Linked DNA regions of Homo sapiens: all the other regions are linked to region 3. Evidence: promoter capture Hi-C in 16 types of primary human blood cells and fetal thymus (Javierre and others, 2016). All regions are on one chromosome and are shown on one strand. Each heading gives the region's core, a stretch centred on a gene start or on the middle of the fragment in contact. The rest is flanking DNA. Distances are from core to core; before and after follow the strand shown. Region 1 overlaps MB21D2 (Mab-21 domain containing 2). Region 2 has its middle 41 kb from the start of FGF12. Region 3 holds the start of ATP13A4-AS1 (ATP13A4 antisense RNA 1). Region 4 overlaps MB21D2 (Mab-21 domain containing 2). Region 5 overlaps FGF12 (fibroblast growth factor 12).

Region 1 (2,700 bases), core at 184-2,683, 730 kb before region 3:
AGATCTTCTATGCAGACCACTGCTGGAGTGGTCCCCAAGTCCCCTCTCTAATCATTCCAAAGCTGTCTAAAAAGACTTTACTTTTCGCCAACTGTACTCACTTGTTCAACTATTTTTACCCATTTCCAGGTACTCCAGCTTGGGAGGCACCTGACATCCATCTGTGAAAGTGCAGGCAGCTTGGAGAGCAGGCCCTGCAGCTCCTGCTCTGGGGACAAGCTCTGCATCCCAAGCTCTGAACCTGAAGCAGGACACCCAGGGCCTAGTCCTGGTGCTCCCTACAAGGGGGTAGGGGAATCAGCTCCTCTCCCTAGGTTTCTGTTTCCTTGGCTACCAAGTAAGTTGGGTGGAATACATGGTTTTTAATGTCCTTTCTGACTTTCAGGACTCTATACATAAATAAGTGTGTTTGTGTTTCTGTGGGGAGAGAAAGGGGAGGGAGATGCGATATTAAGAGTGAGTTTGTATAACAGCAAGTCAGAGCTAAGATGTATAAAAGTACACACCCCCCAGAAACACACAGAGGTGTATGCAGAACCTTCAGACAGATTTCTCTAAAATTTATGAGTATCATGAAACAGATTGTAAAAAAGAAAACTATGACATTATGAACGCTGATCTAACTTAAGCACAAAGAGCAAAGTAGACCTTTAACTCCCCCGAGATAACAACTTCGGATAATACAAAATGTAATTTCAGATCTTTCCAAAGGCCTTTCAAAGTCCAGGGATGAGGTTCTGTGTTGCAGGGAAAGGACTCGTACAGAAGTTTTGTTAAAATGATTAGAAAGAAAATAACAGGCACTGGATTTACAGCCAGTCTCTGGGCAATGAATGATTTGTCACCTTTTTCTTCTGTTATTGATTCTCGCCTATAGACAGACGAGGAATGACTGCTGATGAAAGCGTCTGCGTAGCGGCCACTCAGACTGTGTCAAATATTCCTCCGGCGTCCCGCCCCGGGCTCTCTCTGCAAAGGCCCAACCTCCTCACAGATGCTCCGCTGCCTCGTTCAGCCAGCATCTGGAGGTACAACTTCTGACTACCTAACTCGCGCTCCACCCTGTTTTCCATCCCCCCAAATCTTATTTTCTGACACAGGGGCTCGCTCTGTCACCCAGGCTGAAATGCAACGGTGTGATCACGGCTCACTCCAGCCTCAAACTCTTGGGCTCAAGCAATCCTCTCACCTCAGCCTTTTGAGTAATCAGGACTACAGGCGGTGCCACCACACCCAGCTTTTTTTTATATATATTTTTTGTAGAGATGAGGTCTCGCTATGTTGCTGAGGCTAGTCCCGAACTCCTGGCCTCAAGCCATCCTTCACACCCATCCCTCACAAATCCATTTTAAACAAACAAACAGAACATTACGTACCCTTCAAATAACAATGAACACATCGTTTATTTGACTAATGCTGCTGCCTTCCTGATATTGCTAATGTCACTATCCACCACCACCTGGGCTCTTAATAACATCACTCATTTACTGGGCACCTACTTTGGGCCAAAAGGTTTCTTGTGAATTGTTATTAATCTTTATAATGCCCTCTTATGATGAAGACCTTGAGGTTAAATAAATGCTCAAAGTTACATAGTCAGTGGATCTGATAGCTGAACCAAGCTCTCTGACTCCAAAGGTAGGGTTGACTCACAAACATTTCATCCAGGTCAGTAGTGTGAACTATCCACACCTGCTCCCACCTCATTCCTCAACCTCATCTCACAACTTCGCTATTGCCCTGGGAGACCGCAGAGCACCTGCAGCTTTCAAACACTATGGGATCCAGAAATGAAGGAAGCTGGGAGATCCAGGCACAAGCAGGGAGCACCAAACCTAGAGGCAAGTTCTCAGTCCAGAATTTTCTGCCCCTTCCCTCTCTTCTTGCCTAATTCTACCAATTAGGTTCATTGTCACGATTAAAAGGGAAACTGGAAATTGCTTTCTGGAAGTTAAGGCGCTAATTAACATTTACTCTTTGGTTTAAATGTCTGGAATTGGAGAACAACATTCTTAACGCAGCAAAGAACACCAGCCCTGCCACAGTGGGAGTTGGATTCAGAGTTGACTGAGTGATTTGGAGGTCTACAAAGTGCCATGATGGGCCGTCAGGGTCCTGGAAGGTCCTGAGGACAGAAGTAGGAGACAGGGAGGCAGCAAGAGGCAGCACCCAGGAAACCCTTTGTCAATTTCAAAACTGTGCTCAATTTTTTTCTCTTCCTCTTCCTTTCCCTCCCCTCCTATACAGCCTCCTACTCCCCAAACCCAAGATAATAGGATGAGTACTGCATTCCGGTTGCAAACTGAGTTAAAATGGCACCTGTGAACCCAGGCATTATTTGAAATATCTTTACATGGAAATACGTGATCTGATTCTAAACAAACAAGTGTATACCTATCGCATTTCTAAATGTGAGGGAGCTATTATTCACAGCAAGTCCCTGAGAAGCTAATTAAATGTGCCACAAACAAGCATAACAGTCCAACAGAAAAAAGGCGGGGTGGGGGTGGGAGGTTGGAATGGGGCATCTGCTTAAAGTTTTCATTCCTAATAAGAGATGTTTCTAAATTGAGTTGAAGAGAGCTTGTGATACATTGGAGAGTCACTTACACTGTTTCACTTCAATTACTGGTTTCTCCCCAAAATAAGATTCAACAGAAAAGGTGACAGGAGTTCACCTCAGATACCAGTCTCAACAGG
Region 2 (2,700 bases), core at 1-2,500, 790 kb before region 3:
GGGTGGGGGGAGGGGGGAAGGATAGCATTGGGAGATATACCTAATGCTAAATGACGAGTTGATGGGTGCAGCACACCAACATGGCACATGTATACATATGTAACAAACCTGCACATTGTGCACATGTACCCTAAAACTTAAATAATAATAAAAAAGATATTTTATGTGACTTTTTATCATAAAAAGAGAGAGCATTATGTTGCTGAATTTTCAATAATACATTGAGATAACTTAGATTTCTTAGTATCAGCTGTAAAAAATTAATATTTGATCTTGTGTTTTACTTAGAGACATTTCTTTTACTTGTAAAATGACTGTTTACTGAGAAGAGCATTTTATATGTGTTCTCATTTTAATAGAAACTACAGTGTTGATACTGGTTGAGTTAATTAAAGCAAAATTGGTGAGGTCATAGCAGGTTAATTATCACAGTTTCTAAGCATGTACAACGTCCCATGGTGAACAGTTTATAACTTTAGATAGTTTTCTATAAAAAATATTTTTCTCAAATGCATGTAATTATAATAAATATAATTTCAAGGATATAAGCCAACAACTATTGGAACTGCTATTGAAATAAAAATTGTAACATGATAGGAAAGTATATCTCCCCTTTTGGTTAACTAATTGAGATACAAACTCCATTTCCTTAATAATTAGATGCAAGTAAGTACAGATTTACTTACATTTTGTGGTAAATGAAGATATGCAAACATTTATTAACCTTTTCCTTTGTCAATTTAAAAATAAGCTAGTAATTACTCTACCTGCTATTCTCAAAAGCACTTGTGTCAACAGCTTATCAGGCTCTCAAGGCTCCTGCTTTAAAAAACAAAACAAAACAATACAAAATACCTTATAGCCTCAGACTTCAATTTTCATTTTAATCAGGGCTAAATCAAAGATAGTTTAAGGTTTATAATAATTTATTTCTACAGAACTATACAATGACAGAAATTTTAGAGAAAATCTAGCTAGCCCACATCCCTTAATTTTATAGACAAGAAAAGCAATGCTGAAAAAAATCCACCAAAAATAACTGAGCAAATTAGCACCAGAGTTAGACTTGAAAACTCAGGACTTTCCTGATTTCCAGACCTCTGACTACTGATTTGCCCAAGCTTCTTTTAAAGTCATGTTTCCAACTAGGCAAAATAGAGCTGAGGGGAATAGGCACCTATTATTTTCATCAGAATATGTGGAACTCATTGGTTGCTAGATTTTTTTTAAACAACATATAAGTGCTGTTCTCAAAGAGAATGTAACCTAACAGTGGAATCCAGGTAAATGCATATAAAAGATAAAATGCAGTAAAGTAGCAGAAGAAAACAGTGGTGCACTTATCTAAAATAAATATAATCCTAAGAATTATATTTATATAAGCTTCACCAATTTGTAACCCTTCTCAAAAATGAAAGACTGTTTTTTCTTTTTCTTTCTTTTTTTTTTTTTTTTTTGAGATGGAGTTTCACTCTTGTTGCCCAGGCTGGAGTGCAATGGCGCGATCTCGGCTCACTGCAACCTCTGCCCCCGGGGTTCAAGCGATTCTCCTGCCTCAGCCTCCCGAGTAGCTGGGATTACAGGCGCTGGCCACCACACCCAGGTAATTTTTTGTATTTTTAGTAGAGACGGGGGTTTCACCATGTTGGCCAGGCTGGTCTCGAACTCTGACCTCAGGTGATCCACCTGCCTTGGCCTCCCAAAGTGCTGGGATCACAGGCGTGAGCCACCGCGCCCGGCTGAAAGAGTGTTTTAATAAATACAACACACAGAAAAGGATAGATATATCTGATGCAATATAGAAGGAAACAGATGTGAGATGTTAGTGGTTCTGAGGACAAGCTAGAGAAAGCACTCACCATCATTTGGGAAATGTTTTTATGGTCCTATAGTGAGGGACTGTGTGGAAGAAACAACGTGACAGTGTGACATGTTTAGCATGTCTTTGATGTGTAATTTGAACTGCATTTATAAAAATCACTTAAAAATTATTTCATTTTAACTGTAGCAGGAGGTAAAATTTTTAATGTTCTTACTTTTCAGGGCTTGGTCTTTTTTTTCCTATGGTAAGTAACAATACTAAGTCAGATTCTGATATTTTCAACCCTTGTTGCTTTCCTGTGTCATAATTAGCACCATGGTTTGTACAGATCTTCAATTGCCTGACTTTCATATGCATGGGGCTTAGGAGAGTGGTATACATTCCCATCAAGAGTTATATCAGGCCTGAGTGATGTCTGGATATCAGCAAAGACATTATTCTTAAAACTAGGAAGAAAAGCAAAAAGAAAAAAAAAGAGGAAAATTCCATATATGTAGATGCATCTAGGCAATAAAGATTTTCATCTTCATTTAACATCAAGTTCTTTGTAATGAATGGGGGATTATAACTCTTGATTGTTTGTCTGCATAATTTATCCCACTTTAATATCAAACTTTAATATTTCTAATATGTCTTAGCAATAATTGTTACCACAATCGATAATTAAACTACTGTTCTGGAAGCCAGTGCAAAAAGGAAATTCAACAGGTTGCTGAGTTCACAGTGGGTGATAAAAGAAATTCATGTCAGATCACACTAAGTCCACCAAGACAGTGAGACATTCAAAACGGTTCCTATCACATGCAATTTGGATATTTAAATAAACAATATCTATAACACTAAAAATGCAGCAGATTTATAATCTTTTCATAAGCCAA
Region 3 (2,700 bases), core at 154-2,653:
TGAAGGCCACTTTCTCACCTTTCCTTCCTTCTCCCTCCAAAAGCTTCTTTCTACCTTTGGGTCCTGTCTCATTTCGCAGTTAAAGATATTATTTTCAGGTCACCTAGGGTTGCTCTTTAGTTCCTGTTTGCTTTTGGTTTGTTACTTGTTTATTTATTTATTTTTATCTATTTACTTATTTTTGAGACAGAGTCTTGCTCTGTTGCCAGGCTGGAGTGCCATGGCGCGATCTTGGCTCACTGCAACCTCTGCCTCCCAGGTTCACGCCATACTCCTGCCTCAGCCTCCCAAGTAGCTGGGACTACAGGTGCACGCCACCCTGCCTAGCTAATTTTTGTGTTTTTAGTAGAGATGGGGTTTCACCATGTTGGCCAGGATGGTCTCAATCTCTTGACTTGGTGATCCGCCCGCCTCGGCCTCCCAAAGTGCTGGGATTACAGGCACGAGCCACCATGCCCAGCCTGTTTTTGGTTTTTTAACTCCAAAATGGAAGATAATCCCAGGCATCTTTAGGCCTCAGAATATTCTTCTTTATTTGACATGAGGTCTAAACCCTAGCATGTTGTTTTCTCTTGAAATTTGAAGTAATTTCTACCACAAGAGAAATTACGTTTGCAAAGGTTCAAGTAAAGTATATTATAAAGCATGAAACTAAACACTTTGGTGTGACACATTTCTGGACTTGGAAGTCAGAGAAGACAGACTTATTTAAGCTACTCGAATTATCTAGAAGAAAAAAGAAACTCAAATTATCTATAACAGAACAGATGCTGGGGAATCTAAGAAGACTGGATGTTGATGTTCTCCTTAGCTTTGTTTTATGAAGGAAGGGAATGTGTTCTGTTAAGAGTGGAATGTTCTCCGGAAGAACTGGAAAAGGTATCAGTGGGCTATGTTCAGGTCCAGAGACAAAAGAGCTGTCAACTTAAACTAACCTGTGCGGTGCCTCAGCTCCTGGACTTACTGGTTGATGCAACCTTAGGGAAAGCCTGTGTGCATCAATTTCCTCATCTTTAAAGTTAGAATCACAGCATCTACCTCATAGGGTTGTGAGGAAAACTAAATTAGCTAGTGGCCAAGAAAATGCTGTGTATACTAAAAATCACTACAAAATATGTAGACTATATATATAGCTTGATAATTTTTAAAGTTTACTGCTCTGGGCAAGGGATGGAGGAGTGAGTTAAAAAGGAACACAGTGTCAGACACAGCAACAGGCAGGTGGCCAGGTTTCTGTAGGCAGAAGAGGATGGAGAGCTCAGGAGTGCATACTAATTGCTGCACCTCTGCTGAGACTACTGGCCAAATGGCTGCCTACCAGAAAACACAGTGTCCCTTTCCATATTAAAGGGCCTCTCCTAACTGGGCTTTCAGCTGCATACAAAACTACGTGGAGTTCTCCATGCATCTGATGGTGCCATTATGAAGATGAACTGTTAACTAAATTGCTTTGGTGGAATATGTATGCTAGGGAAGAGGTAACAGTTTCCCTACAACCATGAATGTCTTCTGGAAAATAAATGATTCTTATTGAGACTTGAAAGACAAATTGTCTGAGAGCAGAAAGGGGTTTACTGGAAAAGAGTGAGTGTATTTCTAAATGAGAGAGAAAAAAAATGTTTCAGAGGAAGGAGCCCCTGCCTTCTGGTGAAGAGTATTCAAGATGAAGATAAACTTTTCAACTTAATATCGAGAGTAATGAGATATTCACTTCCTAAAGAAAACTCTTTAAAGAAACAAAGATGATATCCAATGTGGGCTAGCAAGCCATTTCTGGTGACATTTGTGGAGGGGCTGAAGGCAATTCATTTGGCAGTCAAATCTGAATGAAGTAAAGGATATGGTTAAGAAAGGCACCTGAATTAATGTACATTTTACTTCTTTATAATTTTTTCAGCTTTGATAGCAGAAGGGATCTACTCTTGAAAGTCCAAAAAATGTTGTTGCTATAGGAACAGGTAAGCAGATTAGACTTGAAAGACCAGTTTAGGAACAAAGAATGTAATAGTCAGGGCTAAAGCAATTAACCAAGAAAACATTTTAAGTAAATATCTTTCAGGTTTGTTATTTACATATTAATTCCAGGAAGATTAAATGCTATTATGGAATGAGAGCGTCACATTTTAACATTTTAATTACATCATTACTGGCATAAAAGACTATGCTTACACAATTAGCAGAAAGATCTTATTAAACAGAAGTACATATTTCTAACTCTCTCTTGATTATATTGTAATTGAGAAATACAGTTTTAAATTCATCCTGAGCATGAAAGTCATCTTTGATTTTCCTATAGTTCTCAAGATAGAAGCACATCTAAAATCAAAGAGATACTGAACTACCGAAAGTTTTCTGTAACCAATCTCTATAATGAGGAAGCCACAAAAGTAAAATTCTAGAAGAAAACAGAAATGTGTGTAGGCTGATAATTGTTAATATTGCATGTCTTCCCTGTCCAACAGACTCGGTGAACAAGACATTTGAGAAGAGAAGGTCAAAGACCCAGCTGCACTTCTGCTTCACTGCTGAACTTCTGCTTCTTCCTATCAGGGAATACACTGCTCCTCACATTAGGGATTTCCTAAAATTGTTAGGTGTTTTGAACAGAACTGGCTATACCAATGAGGCTCAAACAAGAATCATAAAGTGCATGGTGCTTCTCTCCCTCTCTGTTTTCTTTAAAAAGAAAACATTCTTGAC
Region 4 (2,700 bases), core at 24-2,523, 750 kb before region 3:
TCGAATTGTATACGTTTCTGATTAAATTGGCGATGATATTAACAAATGTGATTTTTTAAGAGATTGTGGGTCCTTTTGAGAACCATGTCTCATGTATTAAGCAGGTATAGAAGACTCCGTGCATGCAGTAGGAACATAATTCAAGCTATGACTAAATGATAAGGGAAAAAATGCATGAAATTAATAGGTAGATAGCATTAATAGATGGAATTAACATAAATTCTTAAAGGCTAGACTTAAATGACTGTTCCATAAACAACATATACATTTTCCCTCCTTCATTATATACTTGCTTACGCTTGATTCTCTGACAAACTACCAGCGTCATCCTGTGATTTATTTAACAGTGTTTCCCCAAAGATCAAGACCTACCACAAAGTATTATAATATTCCATTATTCATTATAATTCATAGTTTGCTCTTCATAGGACAATCCCAAATCAAATAAACCATATGCCTGTGTTTTCTTACTATTATTGTTATACTCTGAACGTTCGTGACTCCCACTCACATGTTGAAATCCCAACTTTCAATGTGATAGTATTAGGAGCTGGGGCCTGTGGTAGGTGATCAGGCGTGAGAGTGGAACCCTCATGAGTGGGATTGGTACCCTTATAAAAGAAACCTCAGAGCGCTTCTTTACCCCTTCTGCCATGTGAGGACACAGTGAGAAGACAGCCATCTATGAACCAGGAAGCTGTCCCTCACCAGACAATGAATCTGCAGGCACCTTGATCTTGGCTTTCTTGACATCCAGAATGGTGAGAAATAAATCCCTGCTGTTTATAAGCTACTCAGTTTAGGTACTTTGACATAACAGCCTGAATGAACTAAGACAATTATACTTTAAAATTTAACGCTCATTTATTAAAATATGCTCTTTAAAATCCTATTTTCCAAACCACATTAACCATGAAAAAGTCTTTTATTTAGTACAATTCTTTACACACAGAAATATGGCAAGTTATCATTTTCTTTTTAAAACCGTAAGTTAGCCAACATTATAGTGTCAACAATTCATCAGAAAGAACATCCAACAAACCTGACTTCTTGGCTGTTTCTCACACTATCTGCACTGTGATACGGCATCCAGGTCCCTCTTCAATAAAGGACTTCCAGCTGCTTAAATGCTAGCCCTTAAGGATTGTCTCAGCTGCAAAGGGCTGTCTTAGCCAGGTCAGGTCCTGTGGCTGGGATGGGGGTTGCAGGTGCACATCCAATAACTGATCGGTGTGGGAGTGTCCCAGCTCAGGATACTCTGAAGGGCCACTCAAACTCTGAGTTCCCAGTGGGGTTGGCTGTGGCGAATGATGCGCCTGCAGGGAAGCTCAGCTTCTCCTACTTGAACCTGCTTCCTTCCCCACTTCGACAGGTGTAGATCCCAAGGGTGCTGCTTCATAAACATCCTAACTCCATTTCAGAGGCTGCGTCCTGAGAAACCCAACATACTACACTAAATACTATCCAAGCAAAACAGAAGATACTACCTACTACCCAAACAAAAACCGTCTTCAGCATGGAAAATATGTTTTTCCTTTTTAAAGTGTTTTCTTTTTTAAAGCCAAACTTAATCCGGATTGAAAGTTCTTATAAATGCCAAGACAAAGATCCATTTCTCAAATGTCATTATGTTTTAATATTAACCTCATCTTTGCCATGTAAAGAAATACTACCATCCCACGTTTTGGTTATTGCTTTAAAGGATAAAATTGATTTCTCAGATTCCAGATTAGGTTGTGAAAATCATTTTCATTATTTTATGAACTCACATGTTGGAACAGTCAGTTTCAGTGAGATATATTTGATAATGAAATCGTTTACTCTTCATTATTTCAAACATCCTTTCATTCTACCATTCAGAATACCATAAATATACGTGAGAAGTACTGTGAAATGCTGTGTTGTGGTTAGTAAATAAGATCTGAATCTATTAAAGTGATATTGTTATTTGAGTACACACTGTTGTCTCCTCTTAGGCGTAACTAACTCAAAATCCTATATATGCTTTTGTCCTGGACAGAAGCAAACTGGCTTTGAGCCCACCAACTAAGACTCGTCTATATAATCAGGGTAACTTGTGCATTAACAACCTGGAGATAATTTGTCTACAAAAGTGCCACTGAATTTTGCCTTGGATTGTTACAATCTTGTTTGGAGAGTCTTGGGTAAGCCATAGCTAAAACTCCCTTCTGCCCTCTGCTGGATTTAAGAAGTTTTAACCTGTTTTCACTTGTCAATATACACACTAGAAAATTCCTGCCAATGATAAAAGGTTCTCTTTCCTCTCAATGATGCTTATGCATCTCGTTAAAATGTTGACCCTTTATTCAAAGGAGTCAACATCAAGTATTTGGCTAAATTCTAATATTCAGGAGATAGGGTAATTTTGAACACTTCTTATTCCTTTTAAAGTGAAGAAAGCCCTTTAGTAGCAGAAAGAGTATTGCAGACACACATTTACTAAGCCCCTATAAGAAACAAAGTCCCTAAGGCCACACTGTTCCAGAAGCTAATCCCTTCCTACATCCACATTTCCATTTAGCCTCCCTGAGCCCATTAGTCTGCAATTTTACAAACGATATGGTAACAGAACTCGAGCCTTCCCCAGCGTTATACAAGCCCAAATGTCTTCCTTGAAAACTTTCCTGGGCTAAGTTTAAGTGAAAATGAGCTGACATCAGCTATCATGGCAGATGGGTT
Region 5 (2,700 bases), core at 17-2,516, 990 kb before region 3:
TATATATATGCCATATATACACACACACAAACACACGCACAGCTATATACACAAACACACATTCTGCAAATCAATAATAAAAAGACAACACAAATTTTAAAATAAGCAAAATATTTGAACAGGCACGTCAGAACAGAGGACATACAAATGACCAATAAGTACATGAAAAGTTATCAACATCATTAGTCTTCAGCGAAATGAAAATTAAAATGATGGTGAGAAACTTCACTTTTCTTTTTTTTTTTGAGACAGAGTCTCGCTCTTTCACCCAGGCTGGAGTGCAGTGGTGCAATCTCAGCCCACTGTAACCTCCACCTCCTGGGTTCAAGCGATTCTCCTGCCTCAGCCTTCTGAGTAGCTGGGACTACAGGCACCCGCCACCACGCCCAGCTAATTTTTTATATTTTTAGTAGAGATGGGGTTTCACCGTGTTAGCCAGGATAGTCTCGATCTCCTGACCTTGTGATCCGCCCGCCTCGGCCTCCCAAAGTGCTGGGATTACAGGCGTGAGCCACCGTGCCTGGAAAATACTATTTATTTGTGAGGATACAGACCAACTGCAACTCTCATACATTGGGAGTGTACTATGTTACAAACGATTAGAAAATAATACTTCTAGAAATGTCACTTAAAATAGTATCAGATTGTTTGCAAATTTGTTTCCCAGTTCATTATAAAGTTAAACAAGAGCTTACACTATGACCCCGTACTTCTGCTCCTGGGTTTTTACACAAGAGAAGTTAAAACATGGCAAAATAATAATAATAATAATAAAGAAAAAAAGAAAGAAAAAAAAAAGAAAATGACTTGTACATGAATATTTCCAGAAGCTTTATTCAAGTTAGTAAAAAACTGAAAATAATTCAAATGTCTACCAAAATAAAAACAAATAAATACACCATGGAATACTTAGACAATAGACCTTATACTCAGCAATTTTAAATAATTAACTAGTGATACACAACAACATGATGGATCTCAGAAATTTTGTTTAGGAAGAAGTTTCAAAATAGTATAGACTGAAAAAATTCATTTATATGCAATTCAAGATTAGGCCAAACAAGTCTATGATGAGAAAAATTAGATAATTGGTTGTGGGTGGGTGGGGAAGAGACTGACTGGAAGGGATGTGAAGAAATTTTCCCAAGTGAAATGTTGTATGTCTTGATGAATGTGTTGGTTATACAGGTTAATTTAACAAAACTCAATAAATTACACATTTAAACTTTCTGCATTTTATTGCATTTAAATTTTTAATTAGACAATAGAAACACAAAGAATGCATGTATTTTTACTTCATAAATGCATGAAGTAAATAATAAGAAAAACATGAAGGGATTTCTTCAGTAAAGTTCAAAATTTGATTGAAATAAAAAACCCACAATGAAGTAGAATTGTACTAGATACAGCTCTTATTAATAAATAAAAAAATTATATAGGCCATCTTGTCGCCATGGGACAAATAATTGCTGTGAATTTATATTATCTTCAATAAAACATATTTGTAATCAGTAAATAGGTATACTCTTCATTATGGCAACTAGTATGGAAATTTGGGTACAGAAGATAAATTCTGGGTGATACTAACCCTACCTCTGAGACTTTTTTTTTTTTTTTGAGCCAGAGTCTCACTCTTTTGCCCAGGCTGGAGTGCAGTGGCGCAATGTTTCACTGTGCTATGAGAGAAGCTATGTTTCATCCACTAAGCTTCTCTTGCAAACAATTATCTCTCTTATTCACACTGTCATTGTTCATCCTGAACGTTCTCTATCAAGCATTCACACGGATTTCCCATACTGAAACCAACACTGTTTGGCTTACATACTCTTAGACACATTGTTTGCCACATGAGTATGACCAGGGTAATAAGGACACTCAAAGTGCTATCACAGAAAGACTCCAAGGATCTTGAGAAGACTCATACTGGACGTATAAGTGGCTTTTATATGCCATGAAAGAAGATTAGACTTTTTTATGTGATTTTGAGAGCTTTAGAACTGGGACCTACCGTTGAAGTTAAAAGTAAAGCAATTTCAGTTCAAAATAACAAAGTTAGATCTATCCAAGATTAATGGAATATTATTAAAAAGTTGTATAAACTGAAAACAGGTAAATAGACACAAATTTTAAGCATTTGATGAATGGCTAGACAATCCAATCTTTAATATCTCTCATATCCCAAGATTTAATGGTTCTGGGTGCAGATGGTTCACCAGGCTCTTTATGCCCCCAAGCTCACAACTCACACATTCACCACTTGCTCAAACAATGAAGACTTGCACACACAATCCCATCCTCCTCCTAGTTTGTTACCAGCTGCTGCCAATGATTTAATACTGGAGACTGAGGAGAGCCAGAGTAGTTTCAATTGTACTCCCTAAAGAGGAAAAAAATCAAGCTAAATCCAATGAGGAAGGATAATATTTGAGAATGGCATTTTCATTAGCAGCTGACAAGTTTAAAAGTATGAACACAATTACATAGTGCTTTGTCAGCAAAGATGTATCATTAGTGTCCTGAAACAAAGAGAGAAATTCTACATAATTAATAAAATGATATTTAACTCTGCTATTATCAATAGATAAACACAATGATAAGTAGTATTCCTTAGTAGTTAAAGCTTGAACTTTGGATCCAGATTGCCTGATTTGAAATCCTAACCTCTCTGTCAGTTCTCCAATCTGAGAAAATAGAGATGAC

What was found. The method cuts DNA at HindIII sites, captures the fragments that hold promoters and counts their contacts. A CHiCAGO score of 5 or more calls a contact.
Region 1: a contact is called between a fragment that was not itself captured here and the fragment with the promoter of ATP13A4-AS1 in region 3, in 3 of 17 cell types (M2 macrophages, monocytes and M1 macrophages). The highest score is 6.5, in M2 macrophages.
Region 2: a fragment that was not itself captured here is called in contact with the fragment with the promoter of ATP13A4-AS1 in region 3 in 1 of 17 cell types (M2 macrophages); the score reaches 5.2 in M2 macrophages.
Region 4: a fragment that was not itself captured here is called in contact with the fragment with the promoter of ATP13A4-AS1 in region 3 in 3 of 17 cell types (M2 macrophages, monocytes and M1 macrophages); the score reaches 9.9 in M2 macrophages.
Region 5: a fragment that was not itself captured here is called in contact with the fragment with the promoter of ATP13A4-AS1 in region 3 in 2 of 17 cell types (M1 macrophages and M2 macrophages); the score reaches 8.3 in M1 macrophages.

Annotation. Positions count from the first base shown.
Region 1 is chr3:192,819,690-192,822,389 of GRCh38, forward strand. All of the region lies in intron 1 of MB21D2 (Mab-21 domain containing 2), which reads right to left. Among named protein-coding and RNA genes, the nearest start is that of FGF12, 93 kb to the left of the region's middle. The HindIII fragment of the contact is 6,078 bases long and covers 1-2,700 here.
Region 2 is chr3:192,766,937-192,769,636 of GRCh38, forward strand. No RefSeq gene overlaps it. Among named protein-coding and RNA genes, the nearest start is that of FGF12, 41 kb to the left of the region's middle. The HindIII fragment of the contact is 262 bases long and covers 1,120-1,381 here.
Region 3 is chr3:193,551,810-193,554,509 of GRCh38, forward strand. ATP13A4-AS1 (ATP13A4 antisense RNA 1) reads left to right here and starts at 1,404. Exons shown (of 2, transcript NR_121666.1): 1 at 1,404-1,478. All of the region lies in intron 1 of ATP13A4 (ATPase 13A4), which reads right to left. The HindIII fragment of the contact is 3,457 bases long and covers 42-2,700 here.
Region 4 is chr3:192,800,962-192,803,661 of GRCh38, forward strand. The region is part of intron 1 of MB21D2 (Mab-21 domain containing 2); the gene reads right to left. Among named protein-coding and RNA genes, the nearest start is that of FGF12, 75 kb to the left of the region's middle. The HindIII fragment of the contact is 5,224 bases long and covers 1-2,700 here.
Region 5 is chr3:192,561,136-192,563,835 of GRCh38, forward strand. All of the region lies in intron 2 of FGF12 (fibroblast growth factor 12), which reads right to left. Among named protein-coding and RNA genes, the nearest start is that of FGF12-AS3, 46 kb to the left of the region's middle. The HindIII fragment of the contact is 877 bases long and covers 829-1,705 here.